Linked DNA regions of Homo sapiens: region 1 is linked to region 2. Evidence: promoter capture Hi-C in 16 types of primary human blood cells and fetal thymus (Javierre and others, 2016). All regions are on one chromosome and are shown on one strand. Each heading gives the region's core, a stretch centred on a gene start or on the middle of the fragment in contact. The rest is flanking DNA. Distances are from core to core; before and after follow the strand shown. Region 1 holds the start of F13B (coagulation factor XIII B chain). Region 2 holds the start of CFH (complement factor H).

Region 1 (5,835 bases), core at 2,095-4,594, 420 kb before region 2:
GATGGCTAGATTTCTAGCAAGGCCAGGGAAGTTTTTTTTTTTCAATTATTTCCCTAAATATGTTTTCCAAATTTTCAGATTTTTCTTCTTCCTCAGGAACACCAATTATTCTTAGGTTTAGTCATTTAACATAATCCCAAACTTCTTGGAGGCTTTATTCACTTAAATTTTTTTCTTTGTCTTTTTTGGATTGGATTACTTCGAAAACCTTGTCTTCAAGCTCTGAAGTTCTTTCTTCTGCTTGTTTTATTATATTGCTGAGACTTTCCAGTACATTTTGCTTTTCTCTAAGTGTGTTCTTTATTTCTTGAAGTTGTGACTGTTTTTTATTTATGCTATCTATTTCACTGAAGATTTCTCCGCTCATATCTTGTGTCATTTTTTTGATATCCTTAAGTTGGATTTCACCTCTCTCTGGTGCCTCCTTGATTAGCTTAATAATCAAACTTCTGAATTCTTTTTCTGGCAGTTCAGGAATTTCTTCTTGGTTTGGATCCATTGCTGATGAGCTAGTGTGATTTTTGGGTGGTGTTAAAGAACCTTGTTTTGTCATAATACCAAAATTGTTTTTCTAGTTCCTTCTCTTTTGGGTAGGCTATGTCAGAGGGGAGATCTGGGGCTCAAGGCTGCTGTTCAGATTCTTTTGTCCCACGGGGTGCTCCCTTGATGTAGTATTCTCCCCCTTTTCCTAGGGATGTGACTTCCTGAGAGCCAAACTGTAGTGATTATTATTACTTTTCTGGATCTAGCCACCAGAAGGGCTACCAGGCTCTGGGCTGGTACTGGGGGTTGTCTGCATAGAGTCCTGTGATGTAAACTGTCTTCAGTTCTCTCAGTCATGGATACCAGCACCTGTTCCAGTAGAGGTGGCAGGGGAGTGAAAGGAACTCTGTGAGGGTCCTTAGTTGTAGTTGTTTGATGCACTAGTTTGGTGCTGGTTGGCCTCCTGCTGAGAGGTGAAGCCAGCTGGACTTCCTGGGTCGAATGGGGACTTGGAGAACTTTTCTGTCTAGCTAAAGGATTGTAAACACACCAATCAGCGCTCTGTGTCTAGCTAAAGGTTTGTAAATGCACCAATCAGCACTTTGTAAAAACAGACCAACCAGCACTCTGTAAAATGTGCCAATCAGCGGGATGTGGGCGGAGCCAAATAAGGGAATAAAAGCTGGCCACCCGAGCCAGCCGCAGCAACCTGGTCTGGTCCCCTTCCAGGCTGTGGAAACTTTGTTCTTTCGCTCTTTGCAATAAATCTTGCTGCTGCTCTCTTTTTGGGTCTGCACTACCTTTATGAGCTGTAACACTCACCGCGAAGGTCTGTGGCTTCACTCCTGAAGTCAGCAAGACCTCGAACCCACCAGGAGGAAGAAACAACTCCGGACGCACCATCTTTTAGAGCTGTAACACTCACTGTGAAGGTCTGCGGCTTCACTCCTGAAGTCAGCAAGACCAGGAACCCACCAGAAGGAAGAAACTCTGGACACATCTGAACATCAGAGGAACAAACTCCGGACACACCATCTTTAAAAACTGTAATGCTCACCGCAAGCGTCCGCAGCTTCATTCTTGAAGTCAGCAAGACCAAGAACCCATTGGAAGGAACCAATTCCAGACACACTGCCATGAGGTAGTGCTTTCATGAGAGCATCAGCTGTGGTATATAGGGGAGGATCAGGTGGTGGGTGGGACACTAGAACTTCCAAGAGAATATGACCTTTGTCTTCAGCTACCAGGGTGGGTAGGGAAGGACCATCAGGTGGGGGCAGGGTTAGGCATGTCTGAGCTCAGAGTCTTCTTGGGTGGGGCTTGTTGTGGCTCTGTGGGGAATGGGGGTGTGATTCCCAGGTTAATGGAGTTACCTTCCCAGGAGGATTATGGCTGCCTCTTCTGTGTCATGCAGGTTGTCAGGGAAGTGGGGGAAAGCTGGCAGTTACAGACCTCACCCAGCTCTCACACAACCCAACAAGCAAATCTCACTTCTACTGTGTTCCCCCAAAAAGCACCGAATTTGTTTCCAGGCAGTAGGGGAGCAGGATTGAGAACTTGCCCCAGGCTACTAGCCTCCCAGCTGAGAATGCAAGCCAGACTTTTGTGCCTCCCTACCTGTTAAGTCTGCACACCAGATTCACGCCCTTTCCTGAGTTCTGGACAGGAAAGTTTGTGTTCGGTTGGAATTGTTACTAAGTTCAGCTGGAGGTTTCCTTCTCCCTGTGGTCTTTTCCCAGTTCCTCCGGCAGCCCCTGTGAGACAAGTCAGAAATGGCTTCTCTGGGGACCCACAGAGACGATGGGGCTTTACCCTTTGCTTCCTCTACCCCTGTATTTCGCTCAGCTCTCTAAATTGTCTGAGCTCCAGGTAAGGTCAAATCCTTCTCCTGTGATCTAGACCTTCAGGTTCCCCAAGGGTGTGTGTTCAGGGGTGGACAATACCCCTTTCACACTTTTCACAGTTTGGGCATTCACAGTATGTGGGCTATTTTCTGGGTCATGCAGGAGCAATATACTTTCTTCAGAGGGTCTGTGGATTATCTTGGCTTTCCTGTTATATCCTTGCAGCAGTTCTTGGAGCAAAAGTTCACAATGCGAGTCTCCACATCCTGCTCTGTCCATCCAAGTGGGAGCTGCAAGTTAGTCCTGCCTCCTATCCACCATTTTTTCCTATTTTGTATTTTAAATTAAAACTCATTAGAATGTAAACTCCATGAGGGCAATAATTTTAATCCAGTTTTTTCACTGCTAAATACCTCAAAACTGTTACATGTGCTGCCATTATCATGGACGTTCTAAACATTTCTCATGAATGAATGTTGATATAGCACAGTGCTGATCTCACCACCTGCCACAAAGTAAAAACTCTCTAAATGTCAAACACTACTATTATAAGTAATACTATTCTATCATTGAGACAACTATGGTTCTGTATCTCTTTAAGGAGTGCAGTCTAGGCAACAACATATTTCAACATCAGGTATCTGTTATCTCATGTTCCTAAGTTCATCTTTTTACCTGATCAATATTAGTAAAGATCTATGGCCTCAAGTGAACTTTACTCTATGAATTTACAATTGGGAACTTAGGTTGAAAATTTACCTAGTATTATTTATTCTGCTGCTATAATTTATTATTTATTCTGCTGCTATTGTTGCCCTAATCAGTTATCATGCTCTTACTGGACTCTGACATGGTAAGTAATGTCAATTAATATAGTTGTGTTATTTTAACATTATTTCAAAATATTTTAAGTGAAATATAAGACTCGTTACAAAAGGACTTAGACAGAGGTTATAAATTATTAACTTTTTCCTCAAGAGAAGTATTGTGTACTTAATGACAAGTTCCTAGTGCTTAGAATTGTTAAAATCTTTGTGAAGCACACCACTGAAGATGAGGTTGAAAAACCTGACTTTTATCATCATATTGATAATCTCAGGAGAACTCTATGCAGAAGGTAAAATTAATTCTTAATATTCTTTATTCTCTAAAACATACAAATGGAGATTCTAATATTTATACAACTCAAGTTTTAATATACTCTTCTATTTTCATTATCAATTTTATAACATATTTTATAAATATAACTTTTTATAATATTTAGACCTTTTCCTTTGAGCAAAATTAGTAAAGTGTTCTTACAGTAGCATAAGTCAGAAAAGCAAAACAAAACAAAAACCCTTGTATCTCTAGGGGGCATAGGAGACCAGGATCTAAATACTTCGAAAAGGTTTTCAGGTTAACAATATGTCCATTTCGAAGTCACATGTTAACTTTAATTCTAAATTTATGCTAGAATCCATTCCTAATACTGACAAAACTTGTACAATTTTAATTCTGTTCATAAGGTGAGAGTTTAATGTGGGAAATTTGAAAAGGAAATAGCCATAAATATTTTTTACTTTTGAGACTTTGATTTTTATCACAATGAATTATTCATTTGTTGGAGACATTAAGTAGTGATTAGTAGGTGAACCATATAATTGCTTGTACAAACAGGGACACTTAGAGAGTAAAAGAGGGGCTCTATTAATAACTGTTTGGACAACACATGTAAATCAGGACTTTCCAAACAAACCAATACCTATGGACTCCCTATTAGAAAGCTTTATAGTCAGATTGCCCAATGTGTAAGATTAGTGTGCGAGTGGAAGCTAGGCAGTGTACATGGGTATGTTGTTCAGGAACATTATCAATATTATCAGGCCATAGGATGAAGAATCCAGGGAGGACACTTAGCATTAGCAAGAGTGAACATACAAAGAAGGAAGCTACAGCAATACAGCTTTTCTAAAATAAACATTTTTGGGAATTTGTTGAAATTAAATACATAAGTTTTAACTGTGTTTTAGTTGAATAGTTAACTATAAATTTTCTACCAAAACATCTATAATTAAAATTATAAAAGTGAAAGACACAGAATTAATCTTATTTTATACTTTTAATTCTATAATAGGATGATTTTTGCATGAATTTCTTTTGATTTTATTTTTCTGTCTAAATAGGGAAATACCAGCAGATATAATTGTCTGTTATCTATACCATAAAGACATTGCAATATTCTAGTTAATTTTCTAATTATTATAAGGTTATAATGCTATTTTACACAACAAAAAAAAAAGTAAGCTGCTTGAAGACCAAGACAATGATTTTATTTTTGCATGCTTCTCTCAACTCCCATTGTGCACTTCAGGGACAAGAATTGAATTAATTGTGTTTCTCATTTCATGGTATGCAAGTATTATTGGCCTATGAAAGGTCTCACTCTTGCTTTACTTACACATTTTATCCCCTTATTCCTAATCTTGAAGTCCATTTCCCCTGGGACCTACTACAATGTTTTAACATGTTACTCTAGCTCTCTCAACCACAAATAGCTCTGGAATGAATATTGTAATATAACCAACTTATCTTTCTGTAAGAATGTCATCAGTCTGTATTCACTCACAGATAGCATTATTGAGTCTATTCTTGTACTTGATTTCTGTAATGAGAGATTACTTTTGCAGAATGGCAGTTTTGAAGTATATCATCTCTGAGAGAGGATGTAAATTGTTGCTCCTCATCATTCTCACCAACACCTCATATTGTCCATTTTTGTACTGGTTGCTATATGGTTATTCATAAAGTGATATCCCATTTTTATTTATTTACCATTCTCTGATCAGTAGTAAGTGTGTCCATCGCTTCATGTACTTTTTTTAATATGTTCAGACATCTGTGATTTCCTGGTTTATATGTGATTAGTATATTCCTCACATTTCTCATTAATTTTTTGTCAGGAATTCATATTCTCCAAGGCATTCCAGCTACCTTAACAAATAATGTGCCTATCCTGGTGGTGGAGGGAGATGTCCCAGGACAGAGAGTCTTTAAAGCCACAACCTAGGATTGTTGTGCAGAGAATACTTTGCTGCCCCTCCCTGACAAGCAACTGTGCCCCTCAGGGAAATTTCTTGTGTATTCACCATTGCACTGCTATTTTGGAAGACTCTTTTTATTGTAAATTCCTTTGGTGCTTGGGTGTGAAAAAATGGTGAGAATAATTCTCAAGGAATGGGGACTATCCAGCCCATGTTTTTCTGTCTGCTCCATCAGATAGTGGAAGTTTTGTTGCTCATCATTCCACATCCATTTCCTTCAAACCTAGGCTAGCACTACTAGTATTTTATGTCTCATAGTAGCATTAAGGTATACAGTGATCAACCAAGGCATTGAAGCCGTAGTAATCACACTGGATCTAGGCCTTCTTCCATCCATGACTGCCCATGTTTCTTCCCACCACAGCTCCTAGGATTGTTCGAGCATTTCTTTCTTTTAAGTGTTTTTATGACTTTAAGATCTTCAA
Region 2 (5,798 bases), core at 2,405-4,904:
TAGGCAGGTGGGGGATGGTGTGTGTGGGGAGGAGGAGAAGGCATAACTGGGAAGAATGAAAAGTGGCAAAAGACTGCAGAATAAACAATCGAGGATTAAGCAAATAAAAGTGGGTCAATGTAGACTGGCTCAGATCTTAGAAACCAAAGGCCACACATGAAGAACATTTACCAATCTGCTTTTGAACTTATATTTGGGAACTTACTTCTACCTAAGAATAATTTTAGTTAGCAATACTTAGATATTTCATTTTTAGTTTAAATTATATGTAGGCAAAAGAGTAGCATATGCATTCCCAGGATATGCCTAAATTTAAAATAAGCAAAGCTTGCCTTGGCAGACGTCTCAGGCTCGTGCCATTTCTGTGGGCATTTTCTCTACCCCTTCTCTTATAGCACTCACTATAGCACTTCAACCAGCAGATCTGTCCTACCTGGGAAAACCCCATCTTCCAGAATCACTTTGTTCTATTCTTATCCTCATCAACATCCATTTCTACCCTCCCCCGCCCACTGAAATTGTTTCAGGGAAGTTGTCAGATGATAATAATTCAAAGTAAATTATGAATAATACTAAATTTAACTATCCTAAAATATGTATTCAGTGTATTTGTCATTCCATGTAAATGACAGATTGGTTGAAATTATAGTAATATTAATATCAACACGTAAAGTATTTTAGGAGGAGATGAGATATTGAAGCCAATTGGGCCATCGCACAATTTAAATCACACCATATAGATAAATACACATACTACTATCTCTGAAAATATGGGGGTTTGGGGGAGCAAAGGGGAATTCTTATTTATCACACTGAAATTCAAACATACAATTTAGGATTTTAGACCACTATTCTCCTTTCTCTGACTGTAATGGAATCCATCAATCTCTGATCTATAAAGTCTTCTGGGACCTGAAATAACGTTTCTGCACTCTAAATCTCCAGGATTAAAAAACATGTCTCCCAAACAACACAGCCAGTATTTACTTGAACATGTTTCAGTAGAGTTTTAATTTATTCACTTTAATCATCTTGGAATTTCTGGGCTGTGGCCTAATTTCATATAGTACACAATTGTTAGACCCTAAATCTAAAAAATCTGCTTGGTCATAATATATTCAAAACCTTGGTCATACTATATTTCAAAAAGGTGAAATTAGGTGGTACGATTGAGAAACTGTTATTTTAAACTTTGTCCTGTAAATCTGACCCAATTCTTAGTAGCCTGCAGTGACCCCCTGAGCCAGACTGTTAAAACAAGGAGGCAATTAACGTTCCTACACAATTGGAAATGTTATTGTAGACAATATATTGCATTAGAAAGGTTCTATGTAGTACCCAATATATTAAAAAAAGAAAACAAATAGAAAGCTGAAATTACAAATTATTCCTGCTGGCTATAATTCTTTCTTAGTAATGAATAGTGTTTTTTTTGAAGAAAGTTCACTCTTAACAGAGCAGAAGTAATGCTAAAATGTTATGCTGTTGAATAAAGCAGATTGTGATAGTATTCAAACTATCTTCTCAATTTGGTATTCAGTATTCAATGTGGAAAATATAAACAGAAGCAAATATTGAAATATATGTGAGTATTTTTCATGATCAAAGCTACTCTGTTAAGTAAAAATTTTTTAGATATGGTAGATTAATAGAACTGATGGACATCTCGAACTAGTTTAGTTTCAGAGAGTATTTGGGAAACAAGGAATAAATTAGGAGTCTGATATCCACTGAAAATTCATGTAGTTTTTCTCCATTGGCTTTTGCATTACATGTGCTTTTATGAAAATTATGAGGCTGGCCTAAGCATTGCTTTAAATACAAAGTTGTGCTTTATCTTTTAGGAAATAATCAGATTTATATCATTTTCACCATAACATATATAGTGCCGATGTTCAATTCACCAGTAGAAACTGATACCACATTTAAACACACATTGATGAAAAATAAAATAAAAGTGAAACAAGTCAGCAATAATCAATTATGTAAATAAGATGTTTAAATCACTATTGTTTAATTATCACATATACTTTGATGTACTCTATTTTAATAATATTTCAAATTCAACTTTTTAATAACTTAAACTGTTTATTAAACTTGCCATTGATTCTTGATTTTAAAGATTAGAAATAAAACAAATCTCCCTTATATGACAAATGGTATCTATGTAAAACTGGAGCAAACAGTATGTAGGTATGAAACGTTAGAAACATTCCCATAAATTTAGTAAGAAAAGACAGAAATATTTACACAAAGAAACAGAAAAAGATGTCTTTTACAATAGGTAATATTGACATTGTTCTGGAACTGTTTGTAAATACAAAAAGGTTTCATTTTAAAATACTAATTATAATATTTATATGTACAAGGAAATAATTGTTTTCTTCATTTAAAAAGTGGCTACATATAAAGTTTACAAGCCAAAGAACAAGCAATAACATTAGAAAATATAACTGAAAATAATTCAACCTTTCAAAAGGTATTAAACATATTTGAATATTTTTTAAATTACCAAAGTGTATAACTATAAGAATATATCTGCTTTTATTTTCTAGATTGGAAGACTGAAACAGAGATTTGTATTATTTGCTAATATTCTTCAGTTCCTAGAGGCTATGTAATGGTCACTCAATCAAAATTTCTTTACTAAGTGAAAAGATTTTAGAAATTATGAATAATATGTAATTCATTCAGTTTAAAAATGTTTACCAAATATCTATCACATAACTGGTTACCTATCAAAAACTAGGAAAGCAAACCTCCTCCAAGAATAAGCTTTTTAATCTATCAAGAAGCAGTGATATAATTAAATTTTATTATGAATCCAGAAATTGTCTTACTGAGGTCAGAAAAAAACTCCTACATTCATATTCACTACTCCAAAAGACTGCTCTTCAAGAATATATGTTATATACAACTACAGGAAAAAAATCTCTATTGAACAACTTAACTGTTACAAATATTGTATATTCAATTGGGTTTCAAATTTATATAATATTTTTATTCTGATAATACAAGTAATACTTGTCTACAAGAATTCTAAGGTCATGACAATATCAGTTGTAAATGATAAATGAATTTTTATTTAGGAAGAGTTAAAATCATATTTGAAATAAATCTAATCATTATGATTTGATGGCTTTTATTGACTATGTATATTCACATCCTTCTTAATGCTTTCACATAATACATTTTGGTTATACTCCTAAGCAAAAAAGTAAATTACATTTTATGATAATTACAAGGGAAATGATTATTCCAGATCATAGTTTTTCAGAAATGTTTATTAAAACATTTTATTCTATTTTATATTAAATATAATTATGATGAATATTTAGATATACCATTCAAATAAGGTTCTTACATTTTTTAAACTCAACAATGTCAAAAGCCACTCAATTGTCAAGTTACAGAATACTTAAGCACATTTTCTAAATCAAATTTTTATTACTCCTGTGAAAAGCATCATTAGCAAATGTTTCATAATACAGTTTTCAGAAAAGAGTCTCTTTTAATCTTACCTTCTGCTACACAAATAGCCCATAACATAAGGCAAATAATCTTTGCTAGAAGTCTCATTTTTTGGATCTTTTAAGAGGACATTTACCAGCTAACTCTGTTCACAACGTCCAGTTCTCCTCTTCCAAGAATTGTGATTAGTGCAGGAAAGAACTTGCTGCAAAAGGAAGTTGAAACTAGATGCTCCGCCTATCAGAAACTTTTGCAAAGTAAATAAAAAATCAACCACAAGCCACAAGCCCAGAAATGCCAGAAGTTAAACCCAATTCTCACTGCACTCCCACTAAATGTTAATGCTGTGACCGGCTCTTGGACTTTTTCTTATTAAGCTAGGGAAATTCTCCGTTGGAAAATGTTCATGTTCTTGGTATGTGCAAATCAGCAGCTGGTGATATCCTCTGGATTTCATAAACCCTTCAATTATTCAAACTCTATTCGGGTCTATTGTGTATAAACCTCAGAACAGGAAATAAGAGAAACTTTAAAAGAAATCACATACAAAACTTTGGTTTAGGCAATGTTTTCACAATCAGCACCCAGACAATGTGTACAAACTTTGCCAAGAATGCAGTGCTTGATGAATTTGGGGGTCTGCTTTTCTAGCAATTTATGAAATTAGTTTTCTAAATACTTTTTGTATATGTGTATGAAGCAACTGGCTCACTCTCATTTGACGTAAATAGGTTTAATAATCCAAAAATCAACAAATTGAAATGCTGATTTTTAAAACTTTGTATTGTAGTGTAATATGTATAAGGAAAACATAAATCATATGCTGGATATTGAGAAGGTAAAGATACCTGTGAAACCACCACCAAGGTCAAAACACTGAACATTATTACATCCCAGAAAACCCCAGTACTCCTTTTCAGTCAATACGCCTCTCAACCCTCTCCCACACCCCCCACACACAGAGACCACGATTCTGATCTTCAAGAACATGGAATATATTTGTCTGGCTTTTGTACTTTGTATAATGAAAAAGAAGCAGTTTATTCTTATGTTTAGAGTTTTTCACCAAAAATTGTGTTTGGACCATTCAAACACATTGTTAGATGTAGTTACAGATAGTTCATTCTTATTGCGATTTAATACTCCACTTTTTGAATAGTTCACATTTTATTTATCTGTGTGCCTGTTAGTGAGCATTTGAGCAGATTTTAGTTTGGAGCTGGTATGAATAGTGCTGCTATGGGCCTTATATTATGAGGTTTTTGGTAAACACAATCCACATTTCTGGTAAGTGCATACTTGGTAGTGAAACACTGGGACATAATTTATGTTTAGGTGTAATGGATAAAATTAGACAATTTTCCAAATGGATTATAACACTTGACATCACTTGACATTTCTATCAGCAGTGTCCAAGTTGCTCCATACCCTCAGAGATACTTGGTAATTTTAATCCTTGTAATTTTAGCTTTTCTGGTAACACAAAGCAATAATTCTCCGTGGTTATAATATGAATTTTCCTGATGACTAATTGAAATGTGAGAGATCCCTGATTCCCCTTGAAGGACATGCAACAGGTGTGCGGCTTGCCAGTTAGGTCGCCCTGCAGCTCAAACCCCTTACGGGGAGGGGGAGCACACAGATGCACCGGTGCGGGAACCGGAGTGAGCGCTTTCGGGCTCTGGCCTCACAGCAGCATCTAGGGGTGGGTGTCTGCGATTTCCGAAGCCCAAGTGGGCGTATGTTACAGTGTGCTCCTTTAGCTTTGCCATCTGCAAATGGTTTATGTGTTAATCAGCTCAACAAACCCTCTTCCTTATCTCATGGGTAGTGGGACAGTGAAATAGCCCTCTATATCCCCAGCTGTTGCCCAGTGTCCCAAAAGAATCGGATCACACGGGGGCTCGAGGGATGAGGGCAACTTTTTATTGAGTGGTGGAGGTGGCTGTCAGCAAGATGGAGTGGGAAGGTGACCTTCGCCCAGTGTCAGGCCTCCCAGTGGCCAGACTCTTCTCCACCCGTCCCTGGCCAAACTCCCCTCGGAGTCCAGATGTCCCTCCTCTCTTTCTCTGCTGTGTCATTCTGCCATCGCAGGCCTGTTTGTCGGCTTGCCTCTCCGTCTCCTCACTTGTAGGTCTCTTCTGGAGCTTGGAGTTTGGGATTTATATGGGGGTACGACAGCGGGGCATGGCGGGCCAAAAGGCAACTTTTTGGGTGTGAAACCTGAAATGCCTGTCCTCATTTAGGGCCACAGGTCTTCAGGCTTGAGGGTGGGGCCTTTGCTTGGGGACCACCCTCTTCTACCCAGTATTTCCCTGTCTCCTGCC

Evidence for each region. The method cuts DNA at HindIII sites, captures the fragments that hold promoters and counts their contacts. A CHiCAGO score of 5 or more calls a contact.
Region 1: the fragment with the promoter of F13B here is called in contact with the fragment with the promoter of CFH in region 2 in 5 of 17 cell types (naive CD8 T cells, neutrophils, M2 macrophages and 2 more); the score reaches 10.8 in naive CD8 T cells.

The regions. Positions count from the first base shown.
Region 1 is chr1:197,064,769-197,070,603 of GRCh38, reverse strand. It overlaps F13B (coagulation factor XIII B chain), which reads left to right and starts at 3,344. Exons shown (of 12, transcript NM_001994.3): 1 at 3,344-3,444. The coding sequence starts at 3,381. RefSeq lists an enhancer at 1,037-2,236. The HindIII fragment of the contact is 18,133 bases long and covers 1-4,095 here.
Region 2 is chr1:196,649,899-196,655,696 of GRCh38, reverse strand. It overlaps CFH (complement factor H), which reads right to left and starts at 3,654. Exons shown (of 22, transcript NM_000186.4): 1 at 3,522-3,654. The coding sequence starts at 3,579. The HindIII fragment of the contact is 3,367 bases long and covers 2,778-5,798 here.